Linked DNA regions of Homo sapiens: all the other regions are linked to region 3. Evidence: promoter capture Hi-C in 16 types of primary human blood cells and fetal thymus (Javierre and others, 2016). All regions are on one chromosome and are shown on one strand. Each heading gives the region's core, a stretch centred on a gene start or on the middle of the fragment in contact. The rest is flanking DNA. Distances are from core to core; before and after follow the strand shown. Region 1 has its middle 4.5 kb from the start of ZFP3-DT. Region 2 overlaps ZFP3 (ZFP3 zinc finger protein). Region 3 holds the start of SLC25A11 (solute carrier family 25 member 11). Region 4 holds the start of VMO1 (vitelline membrane outer layer 1 homolog).

The links. Contacts are between HindIII fragments. The CHiCAGO score rates a contact against its expected background, and 5 or more counts as called.
Region 1: a fragment that was not itself captured here is called in contact with the fragment with the promoter of SLC25A11 in region 3 in 6 of 17 cell types (M1 macrophages, naive B cells, total B cells and 3 more); the score reaches 6.7 in M1 macrophages.
Region 2: a contact is called between a fragment that was not itself captured here and the fragment with the promoter of SLC25A11 in region 3, in 1 of 17 cell types (naive B cells). The highest score is 5.3, in naive B cells.
Region 4: a contact is called between the fragment with the promoter of VMO1 here and the fragment with the promoter of SLC25A11 in region 3, in 2 of 17 cell types (monocytes and M2 macrophages). The highest score is 6.6, in monocytes.

The regions. Positions count from the first base shown.
Region 1 is chr17:5,072,282-5,074,981 of GRCh38, reverse strand. No RefSeq gene overlaps it. Among named protein-coding and RNA genes, the nearest start is that of ZFP3-DT, 4.5 kb to the left of the region's middle. The HindIII fragment of the contact is 8,230 bases long and covers 1-2,700 here.
Region 2 is chr17:5,089,781-5,092,618 of GRCh38, reverse strand. ZFP3 (ZFP3 zinc finger protein) reads right to left here. Exons shown (of 2, transcript NM_153018.3): 2 at 1-1,122. The coding sequence starts at 1,114. Among named protein-coding and RNA genes, the nearest start is that of ZFP3, 13 kb to the right of the region's middle. The HindIII fragment of the contact is 3,851 bases long and covers 1-2,838 here.
Region 3 is chr17:4,938,796-4,941,495 of GRCh38, reverse strand. It overlaps SLC25A11 (solute carrier family 25 member 11), which reads left to right and starts at 1,450. Exons shown (of 8, transcript NM_003562.5): 1 at 1,450-1,680; 2 at 2,284-2,436; 3 at 2,521-2,700. The coding sequence starts at 1,586. It overlaps RNF167 (ring finger protein 167), which reads right to left and starts at 1,228. Exons shown (of 10, transcript NM_015528.3): 1 at 1,136-1,228; 2 at 503-1,009; 3 at 339-419. The coding sequence starts at 586. RefSeq lists enhancers at 321-450, 1,331-1,400, 2,117-2,642, 2,643-2,700 and silencers at 784-978, 1,541-1,610. The HindIII fragment of the contact is 8,197 bases long and covers 1-2,700 here.
Region 4 is chr17:4,785,070-4,787,827 of GRCh38, reverse strand. VMO1 (vitelline membrane outer layer 1 homolog) reads left to right here and starts at 1,464. Exons shown (of 3, transcript NM_182566.3): 1 at 1,464-1,670; 2 at 1,776-1,891; 3 at 2,169-2,543. The coding sequence starts at 1,476. The coding sequence ends at 2,466. The HindIII fragment of the contact is 7,251 bases long and covers 1-2,531 here.

The DNA.
Region 1 (2,700 bases), core at 46-2,545, 130 kb before region 3:
ACTTAATCCTTTACATTGTCTATGATGCAAAGACCTTTGTTCACGTGTTTGTCTGCTGACCCTCTCCCCACAATTGTCTTGTGACCCTGACACATCCCCCTCTTCGAGAAACACCCACAAATGATCAATAAATACTAAGGGAACTCAGAGGCTGGCGGGATCCTCCATATGCTGAACGCTGGTTCCCTGGGTCCCCTTATTTCTTTCTCTATACTTTGTCTCTGTGTCTTTTTCTTTCCTAAGTCTCTCGTTCCACCTTACGAGAAACACCCACAGGTGTGGAGGGGCAACCCACCCCTACACTTGACTGCACATTGGAATCACCTGGGGTCTAAAATCATGGCTGTCTGGTGCCTCCCACATAGACTCTGTTGAAATTGATCTGAAAAAAGATCTGGACGTGGATTGTTTTGCTTTTAACTTTCCAGGTAATTCTGACCTACAGCCATGGTTGAAAACCAATAGCATAGGCCAATGGTTCTCAAAGTGTGGTCTCTAAACCAGCAGCATTAGCATCACCTGGGGACTTGTTAGAAATGAAAATTCTTAGGCCCCACCCACAGATCTTCTAAATCAGAAACTCTGGAGTTGGAGCTCAGAAATGTGTTGTGGCTTTTTTGTTTTGTTTTGTTTGGTTTGGTGGCTGTTGTTTTTTGAGATGGAGTCCACTCTGTCGCCCAGGCTGGGGTGCAGTGGTGCCATCTCAGCTCACCACAACCTCCGCCTCCTGGGTTCAAGTGATTCTCCTGCCTCAGCCTCCCGAGTAGCTGGGATTATAAGTATGCACCACCACACCTGGCTAATTTTTGTACTTTTAGTAGAGATGGGGTTTCACCGTATTGGCCAGGCTGGTCTTGATCTCCTGTCCTCAGGTGATCCACCTGCCTCGGCCTCCCAAAGTGCCAGGATTACAGGTGTGAGCCACCAAGCCCGGCCCAGAAATGTGTGTTTTAACAACACTTCATGGCTCTGATGCACAATAAAGTTTGAGAATCATTGGCCCCAGCTTTGGCAGTGCTTAATCTGACCTGCGCTTGTGTGTGAGTTAGGAAGGAAAAGGATAAGTTGTCTCCTCTCAGCCACTCCCCGGCTCACCGTTTGCTTTATTTTATTTTATTTTGTTTTGTTTTTTGAGATGGAGTCTTGCTCTTGTCGCTCAGGCTGGAGTGCAATGGCGTGATCTTGGCTCACCGCAACCTCCACCTCCGAGGTTCAAGCGATTCTCCTGCCTCAGCCTCCTGAGTAGCTGGGAATACAGCCACGTGCCACCACGCCCGGCTAATTTTTGTATTTTTAGTAGAGACAGGGTTTCTCCATGTTAGTCAGGCTTGTCTGGAACTCCTGAGCTCAGGTGATCCGCCCACCTCGGCCTCCCAAAGTGCTGGGATTACAGCCGTGAGCTACCACGCCTGGCCCACCGTCTGCTTTATTACACTAGCCAACCTAGGTGCCACCTGGAGTAATAGGAATCTACTGAGTGAAGGAGACAAGGACATATGGTTTGTAAATACTGTTCCCACTTTCAGCCTGTATGAGGATGTGTATGACTGGGCAGGGGCTGATGTTTCACGGTCTACTAACAGGTTCAGGACTTCCACAGAATTGGCTTTATAGGTGAGTATGAGCAGTTCTGTTCCTCTTAAAAAAAAAAAAAAAGGTAGATAGGAACACTGACCACCCTCCTGAATTCACACAGAGACAAACACATGGAGAAACCAAAGACACACTGCACTATTTCACCCTTGTCCCTTCTCTTCTATCTGTAGAATATGTGAGAAGGAGGGCTACAGGCACTGGCTGCACTCCTTTCTTACATTTTTATTTTATTATTTTATTATTTTATTTTATTTTATTTTTGAGACAGAGCTTCACTCTTGTCGCCCAGGCTGGAGTGCAATGGTGCAATCTTGGCTCACTGCAACCTCCGCCTGCTGGGTTCAAGCGATTCTCCTGCTTCAGCCTCCCAAGTAGTTGGGATTACAGACATGCACCACCACTCCTGGCTAATTTTTGTATTTTCAGTAGAGACAGGGTTTCGCCGTGTTGGACAAGCTGGTCTCGAACTCTTCACCTCAAGTGATCCACCTACCTCGGCCTCCCAAAGTGTTGGGATTACAGGCATGAGCCACTGCGCCCGGGCTCCGCTTCTTATCACTGCCAGCTGCTTCCTTACTCCTGCCTTTCTTCTTTTAACTAGGCCAACCTCACAGAACATCCTACATACCCAAAGTCTCACTCAATGTGACACAGACGAATCTTGCCTCATGTGATTTAACTATTTCCTACAGACACACAGCTGTCCTTGAGGTCCAGGACCATGTCACATGTCTTTGAGAGTTCTGCAGGAGGCACTGGTGGTGCTGGGCCTCTGTTCAGTGGAAACTTGATGGACAAAAATATTCATATCTCACCTCTGCACAGTAACGTGACTGGCTGAAGCTGAATCAAGGTTCAGTTACATCCTTGGTGTTCCCCCTTACACCTCCAGCTGTGAAGATGTAAGGAAGTAGAGCAAAGGAGCAACTTCCTACTCTGGAGTTAACAATTATACAGATGGTCCCCAACTTAACAATGCTTCAACTTGCAAGTTTTTGACTTTACAACAGTGCGGGAACAATACACATTCAGTAGAAAATATACTTCTTTTTTTTTTTTTTTTTTTTTTTTTTGAGACAGTTTTGTTCTGTTGCCCAGGCTGGA
Region 2 (2,838 bases), core at 267-2,766, 150 kb before region 3:
TCCCACATTCCTTACATACATAGGGCTTCTCACCAGTATGAATTCTAATATGTCTAATAATCTCTGAGTTCTGGCCAAAAGTTTTCCCACATTCATTACATTCATAGGGTTTGTCCCCTGTATGAATTCTCTGATGCCGGATAAGCTCAGAACTCTGCCCGAAGCCCTTCCCACATTCATTACACAGATATGGTTTTTCTCCAGTATGAATTTTCTGGTGTCTAATAAGGCCTGAGCTATGCTTGAAGGCTTTGCCACACTCATTGCATTCATGGTATCTTTCTTCAGTATGAATTCTCTGATGCTGAATAAGCTGTGAACTAACCCTAAAGGTCTTCCCACATTCATTACATTCATATGGTTTCTCTCCAGTATGGATTCTCTGGTGTAGAATAAGGGCTGAATTTTGACTGAAGGCTTTACCACATTCTTCACATTTATAGGGTCTCTCTCCAGTATGAATTCTATGATGGTGAATAAGGTGTGAACTCTGAATGAAGGCCTTTCCACATTCATTACAAGCAAAGGGTTTTTCTCCAGCATGAATTCTCAGGTGCCGTCGAAGGCTTGAATTAGTTCCAAATGTCTTTCCACATTCTTTACATTCAAAGGGTTTTTCTCCACTATGAACTCTCATATGCTGGATGAGATGTGAGTTCTGATTAAAGGCTTTCCCACATTCTTTACATGTATGAGGCTTTTCTCCCACAGAACTTCTCTGTGTTTTGTTAGATTCTAAAATCTCTAGGAAGTTTTGGCCAGAGGTAGCAAATGCACTAACTCCCTCTGTTGTATCTCCCTGATGTGTAACCAGATTTGGGCTGGGACTGCAGCCTCTCTCACTCTCATTATTCTCCCGGTCTTTCTCACTTGAGGGTGATTTCTTAAAGATCATCAACCCTGATGGAAAGTCTCTCTCCTGAGGAGACATCTGCTCTATAACCTCTTCCATGGACTCTCTCGAATGTCCCTCCAACATGTCTTCTTCACATCCTGCTCCAAACTCATGACCTTGGTAAACCACTTTTGGAAATTTTTCTAATAATGACCCATGTGGCTCAGATTCTTCAGAAATTTCTTCCTTGGGAATCACCTCCTTGTTCTCAGTCCCCATCTCACAATCTGAAATGAGAGAGGTAAGTATGTGAAGGGACCGTATCATATTTAAATGAAGCTAACACTAGAGGACAACAGAGCTTTGATGTAGTTCTCATAGCACTCAGAAACAGTCTTGGTCAGGGGAGGAGGGCAGCTGAGGCAGGAGGATTGCTTGAGCCTGGGGAGGTCAAGGCTGCAGTGAGCTGAAATGCGCCACTGCACTTCAGCCTGGGTGACAGGGCGAGACCCTCTCAAAACAAAAAAACAAAACAGAAACAGTCTTGATATCTGGCGAAATGACAAGATGCTGCCAAAGAGAAGATCCAGATTTAGGATTATGGTGGACATGCTAAACAGTGGATGCTGACAGGAGTGAGAAAAGATTTCAAGAGAGAAGTAGGAAATGGATGGTAAAGAGATGCTGATAAAAAAAAAATCCATAATATTAACGGTGAGTTGGGTTAGAACCTGAAGGTGATTAAAGAAAACATCTAGGGAAAATGGTGGCCATATTAATAGATAGGTATACGATAAATATTGAAAGAAGGGACAGAAATGACATGGTGGTTCACATCTGTAATCCCAGCACTTTGGGAGGCCGAGGCGGGCGGATCATTTGAGCTCAGGAGTTCAAGACCAACCTGGGCAACATGGCGAAACCCTGTCTACTAAAAATACAAAAACTAGCTGGGCATGGTGGCGTACACCTGTAGTCCCAGCTTCTTGGGGGGCTGAGGCAGGACAATTGCTTGAACCAGGGAGGCGGAGGTTGCAATAAGTGGAGACTGCACCACTGCACTCCAGGCTGGGTGACAGAGTCAGACCCTGTCTCAAAAAAGAAAAAAAAAGGACAAGTTAATATAAATAACTTTTGGGTGTACAGGGGAAGTAACTGCAAAATGAGTAACAAGAGGACTATTCTTAGTCCTGTTCTCTGGTACTCATCAGCTCTATAGAGCAGGAGAGGGGACATAGAGGGCTTACCTCTTCAAAAGATTAATGTGTCTTAGCTATAACTAGCACAGAAGTACCGCCTTTGGCTCCCTGACATTTGGAGCCACTGGCTTTAAACTTCTCCAAAGGGCTACTGAATTGTGTCAATACCATTTACTGAATAATTCTTTCCCCTACTGATTTAAAATGCCACCTATGCCATAGTCTAAATATCCATCTATATTTGGGCCAACTTCTGGATTCTATTCAGTTCCACTGATCCTTGTCTTCTCTAATATCAAACAGTTCAACCTGTTAGCTTTATTAACATTTTTAATATATGCTAGAGAAAGTTATCTCAGTTTTCTTTTTCAGACCTTTCCTGTCTATTCTCATATCTTCCCAAGTAAACTTTAGTATAAATTTGTAGTCCAAACTTATGCTGATGTTGTTTTTATGTTCATCATGTCTCTGTACCTCTTTTCATTTAGTGAGATTTTCTTACATTTTGTAACTGGCTATTACTTATATATATAGCAATGCTGTTGATCATTACATATTAATTTTGTAATCAGCTCTCTTATAGTATTTTCTTAATACCTTCATAGATTACTTAAAGAGTGCATTTTTGGCAGGGTGTGGTGGCTCACACCTGTAATTCCAGTACTTTGGGAGGCAGAGGTGGGAAGATGGCTTGAGCTCAGGAGTTCAAGACCAGCCTAGGTAACATAGGGAGATCTTGTCTCAACTAAAATTTTTTAAAAATTGGCCAGGGGCAGTGGCATGTGTCTGTAGTCTCAGCTACTG
Region 3 (2,700 bases), core at 201-2,700:
CAGAGAGATTAACTTGCCCAAAGTCATATAAGCAATAACTAGCACCTGAGACCTTCCTGATAAGGACCGTTGATCCTGCCTTCTGTCTTCGTCCACTTTCAGTCTCCCTGATAACCTCGGAGTTCCAGGGGTGGACACTCTGTCTTCTCCCTCTAGATTCTGGGTTCTACACTAGACGTGCTCAGTTCCTAACTTCATTTTCCTACCTCCAGTTTCACCCAGGACAAACCTCCCCAACCCCAGCCTAGGATGGAGGATCTTGCGAAATACTAAAAAAAGAAAAAAGACAGAAAAGGAAGGAAGGGAGGGAAGGAGGAAAAGAAAAGAAAGAAAATCACCTGGAGGCCCTCCTGGCTCAAGGTAGCCCCAAACAGAGCTGGAAGGTCTGCAAAGTCCATGCTGGCATTGTGGTCCGAGGTCTGCGGACAAAAAAGGCGATGTTCCCCTTCAGCCTGCAACCCTTCCTTTCAGCGCCCTTTCCCCATCCGTCCCTCAGACTCACCGCTCGAATGAGCCCCCGGGTCGGGGCCGCTCCCCACAGCACAGCGGCCACAACCACAGGAAGCGGGAAGGCTGCAGGGTGCATGGCAGCGGGAGGAAAGAGGCTGAGGAGGCCGCGCGTCCTGGTAGCAAGGAGCAGAAGCGGAGTTCTGCGCCCTCCCTGCCCCTCCTTTAGGATCCCAGGGGTCCAACCACCCCCAGGTCCCACTTCCCAGCTACATGGGGGCGCCGGGGAAGGAACACCAACTCAAAGAATGAGATATCCAACCCGTTTAGTGGAGCTGGGTGGGAGGCACTAAATGTATCCTTTTCTGGTACGGGGATAAAACGCGGAAAGGGGACGGAGCCTAACACAGGTGACAGAAAAACTTCGGGAAGGGTGGCGGAGCTCAAGGAGGTGGGACTTCCTGCTAGGTGGGCCGTGTTCCCAGCCTCTGGAAAAGGGCTTCCGGTAGAGAAAATCAGGCCGCTTTCAGCATTGGATGCTTGAGATGAAGGACTTCCGGTCCTAAAAGGCCGGTTAAAAAAAGGTTAGCGATGGAGGGACTGCCTGTGGAGATGGAAGGGGCACTGGTGGCCCAGAAGACGACCTAATAAAAGTGCCCGGAAACCCGGAGCCTCCTAGTTTACAAACCTCTCCTCCCTCTGGCCTCCGCCGCTCCTTCAAATCTCGCGAGAGTGCTCACCACCTCTCCCGTCCCCTCGCAGCTGAATAGTTGCTGTGTCTATCGCGAGAGCGCTCCAACTTGGCGAGCCGTACTCACTCGATCTCGCGAGACCTTCAAACAAACTCTTCTCTATTTTCCCGCGATTCTAATTCGGTGAAAACAGCGCCTTTCCTCTGGTTTCCAAATCAGTTACGCCCCTTCTCGCACGCTTCCATCAAGCTCCTCCTTCAGCTCCGCCTTACTCCCGGCCGCCTTTGCGCTGCGCGCCTGCGCCCGCGCCGGCTTCCAGCGGGTGTCGGACCTGAGAGCTGGAGGGGCGTGCGCGCGCCCTCGCTCTGTTGCGCGCGCGGTGTCACCTTGGGCGCGAGCGGGGCCGCGCGCGCACGGGACCCGGAGCCGAGGGCCATTGAGTGGCGATGGCGGCGACGGCGAGTGCCGGGGCCGGCGGGATAGACGGGAAGCCCCGTACCTCCCCTAAGTCCGTCAAGTTCCTGTTTGGGGGCCTGGCCGGGTAAGCTCAGGCCCCAGGGATGGGAAAAGAGGAGGAAGGGAAGGGCAAAAGGAACCGGGCCCGGTTCATCTCTGGGTCTGTTGCAGTGAACTGTGCCGGCACGGGGTCAGCGCGATCTCCAGCGTATTGCGAGTTCCCCGATGGGCTGCTAGGGCCCCATTGCAGGACCCTTATGGACTGCATGCAGGGTCGTTGCACAACCCCCGCCGGGCCAGCTGAGTTTCCCAGCGCATTGCTAAGCTCGGCCGGGCGGCAGGGGGTTCCAGGCCATTAAATGGCTCCTGCAGGACTACCTGGAGTCCTAAATCTTGGATGCCCCTTCCTCCCCTCCCTGTGTCGGACTGCGTGCAGCCCCAGGTCACTGCTTGACTGTCATGAAGCTGCTTGGAGCACTTTCATTGCATGGCCCCTACTGGACAACTAGACTTTTCAGACCCGTTGCACTTGGTGTACATATAGACTCTTATACACATGCTCACCAGCATCCTGATTCTTGAATCGCATGGCAGGCCCTGACCTTTGTAACCTCTTGCTGCCAGGCTCCAGTGGGCACTGGTAGATCTGGAATGCCTGGCCCTTCACTCCACCTCTGTCTTCCCCCAGGATGGGAGCTACAGTTTTTGTCCAGCCCCTGGACCTGGTGAAGAACCGGATGCAGTTGAGCGGGGAAGGGGCCAAGACTCGAGAGTACAAAACCAGCTTCCATGCCCTCACCAGTATCCTGAAGGCAGAAGGCCTGAGGGGCATTTACACTGGGTATTGGGGCCTCAGGATGGAGGGTAGACTGTGGGTTGGCAGCTCTAGACCTTGGCCTGATATGCTGACCCCTCTGCTCCTCAGGCTGTCGGCTGGCCTGCTGCGTCAGGCCACCTACACCACTACCCGCCTTGGCATCTATACCGTGCTGTTTGAGCGCCTGACTGGGGCTGATGGTACTCCCCCTGGCTTTCTGCTGAAGGCTGTGATTGGCATGACCGCAGGTGCCACTGGTGCCTTTGTGGGAACACCAGCCGAAGTGGC
Region 4 (2,758 bases), core at 215-2,714, 150 kb after region 3:
TTTTAGGCCAGGCACGGTGGCTCACGCCTGTAATCCCAGCACTTTGGGAGGCCGAGGTGGGCGGATCACCTGAGGTCAGCCTGGCTAACATGGCAACACCCCGTCTCTACTAAAAATATACAAATTAGCCGGGCGTGGTGGCGAACGCCTATAATCCCAGCTACTCGGGAGGTTAAGGGAAGAGAATCGCTTGAACCCGGGAGGCAGAGGTTGCAGTGAGCCGAGATGGCGTCACTGCACTCCAACCTGGGCAACAGAGTGAGACTTCGTCTCAAAACAAACAAACAAACAAACAAACAAAAAACATACTTAGCCAGATTTTCTCGCTTTTTGTTTTGCAAATTAGGAGTCCATCTGGTGGTCACAGGGGGAAAGGCATTCCAGGAAAGGATATAAGGATACAGAAAGCAATGGAAGAAACAGCATGATCTTTTCTTAGGGGTTCTTAGTCTCCTGTCCCCAAACTTCTTAGAGTTATTCCTGTTGGACCGGGCGCGGTGGCTCATGCCTGTAATCCCAGCACTTTGGGAGGCCGAGGCAGGCGGATCACAAGGTCAAGAGATAGAGACCATCCTGGCCAACACGGTGAAACCCGGTCTCTACTAAAAATACAAAAATTAGCGGGGCGGCGTCTTGGCGCGCGCCTGTAGTCCCAGCTACTCGGGAGGCTGAGGCAGGAGAATCGCTTGAACCCAGGAGGTGGAGGTAGCAGTGAGCCGAGATCGCGCCACTGCGATGCCGCCACTGGGCGACAGAGTGAGACTTCGACTCAAAAAATAAAAATAAAAAAGAATTATTTCTGTTTGTATATGTCTTCTTCTAAGGTAGGGAGGAGTGTCCCGGATTCTCAAGGTGTTAGGGCCCTGAGCTCTCAGAAGACCTCTCAGAGGAGGAAGAGACTTCTGAGCTGACAGGAGTTTTCTCAGCTTCTCCAGTTCGAGGATTCTTGTCCTATCCTCACTCTGATGTCCCCTCACATCCTGGAGGTCTCTGGGTTGCTCTTGCCCCATCCCGTCACTGGTGGGACTCCCGGGAGGTCACTTCCATCCCTAGCCCTGGTCTCTGCTCTGTCTCCACTCTCACTGCTGGAATGTTTCCCAGCTTGCTTGGCTGTAAACCTAAGGCAAGTTGCTTGCCATTTTTGAGCCAGTTCCCTCATCTACAAAATAGGAAGGATAATTCTCACCCCCCAAAAATTGTTGTGAGGGTTAAACAAAATACTGCAAAGCGCTAACCATAATTCGTAGCCTATAGTAAATATTCAGTAGGTGATGGTTATTTTAATTCGCCCTCTCTCACTGCCCCTCCTACCCTAGCTCTGGGAGCCTCTGCCTCCGGGAGCAGGAAATAGGGTTCCGGGAGTGGATTAGTTTTGGGTTTCACTTAATCTGGGAGGCCCTTCCGCAATCGGAGCCCTCACAGAGGCCAAACTGATATAAATCTGCTTAGGAGGCCTGATTCACAGACGCTACAGGATGGAGCGGGGCGCAGGAGCCAAGCTGCTGCCGCTGCTGCTGCTTCTGCGGGCGACTGGTTTCACATGTGCACAGACAGATGGCCGGAACGGCTACACGGCGGTCATCGAAGTGACCAGCGGGGGTCCCTGGGGCGACTGGGCCTGGCCTGAGATGTGTCCCGATGGATTCTTCGCCAGCGGGTTCTCGCTCAAGGTTGGGGCTCAGGCGTAGGTCCTGGAGAGGGCGGAGATGCGTGGGACCATAGAGCCAAGGATGATAATTCCGTGACTCGCCCTTGCCCCTCTCCTCGATACCCAGGTGGAGCCTCCCCAAGGCATTCCTGGCGACGACACTGCACTGAATGGGATCAGGCTGCACTGCGCGCGCGGGAACGTCCTAGGCAATACGCACGTGGTAGAGTCCCAGTCTGGAAGGTGGGGCGCAGGGGTCGAGGATCCCTTGGGGTGATGGTATGTCCCTTACCCTCTATTACATACTCCGTCGCAACAGGCAGGCTGGCTCCGCCAGAGCTACGGGGCAGTATAGACCGGGGAGGCGAAGGGTGGATGGAAGACCCCTCCTCCGCTCCTCGGCGGAGGTCGGGGAGCACCCAGCCCACCAGGTCATATACACAGCACTTGGCTTGGAAAGTCTCAAGGGCTTGGTGAATGGGGGGCCCGCAGAGGCAACGCATCTCCCTTTGCCTTGCAGCTGGGGCGAATGGAGTGAGCCGCTGTGGTGTCGCGGCGGCGCCTACCTAGTGGCTTTCTCGCTTCGCGTGGAGGCACCCACGACCCTCGGTGACAACACAGCAGCGAACAACGTGCGCTTCCGCTGTTCAGACGGCGAGGAACTGCAGGGGCCTGGGCTGAGCTGGGGAGACTTTGGAGACTGGAGTGACCATTGCCCCAAGGGCGCGTGCGGCCTGCAGACCAAGATCCAGGGACCTAGAGGCCTCGGCGATGACACTGCGCTGAACGACGCGCGCTTATTCTGCTGCCGCAGTTGAACGGCGCCGCCGCCGCCGCTCTCTCCCGGGCCAGGAGGCTAGTCCCACCTCTTGCTATTAAAGCTTCTCTGAGTTGACTTTGGTCTCGCCTGTTTATTTCATTTATTTATTTATTAATTTATTTATTTGAGACGGAGTATCGCTCTGTCCCCCAGGCTGGAGTGCAGTGGCTCACTCGGCTCACTGCAAGCTCTGCCTCCCGGGTTCACGCCGTTCTCCTGCCTCAGCCTCCCGAGTAGCTGGGACTACAGGCGCCCGCCACTACGCCCGGCTAATTTTTTTTTTTTTTTTT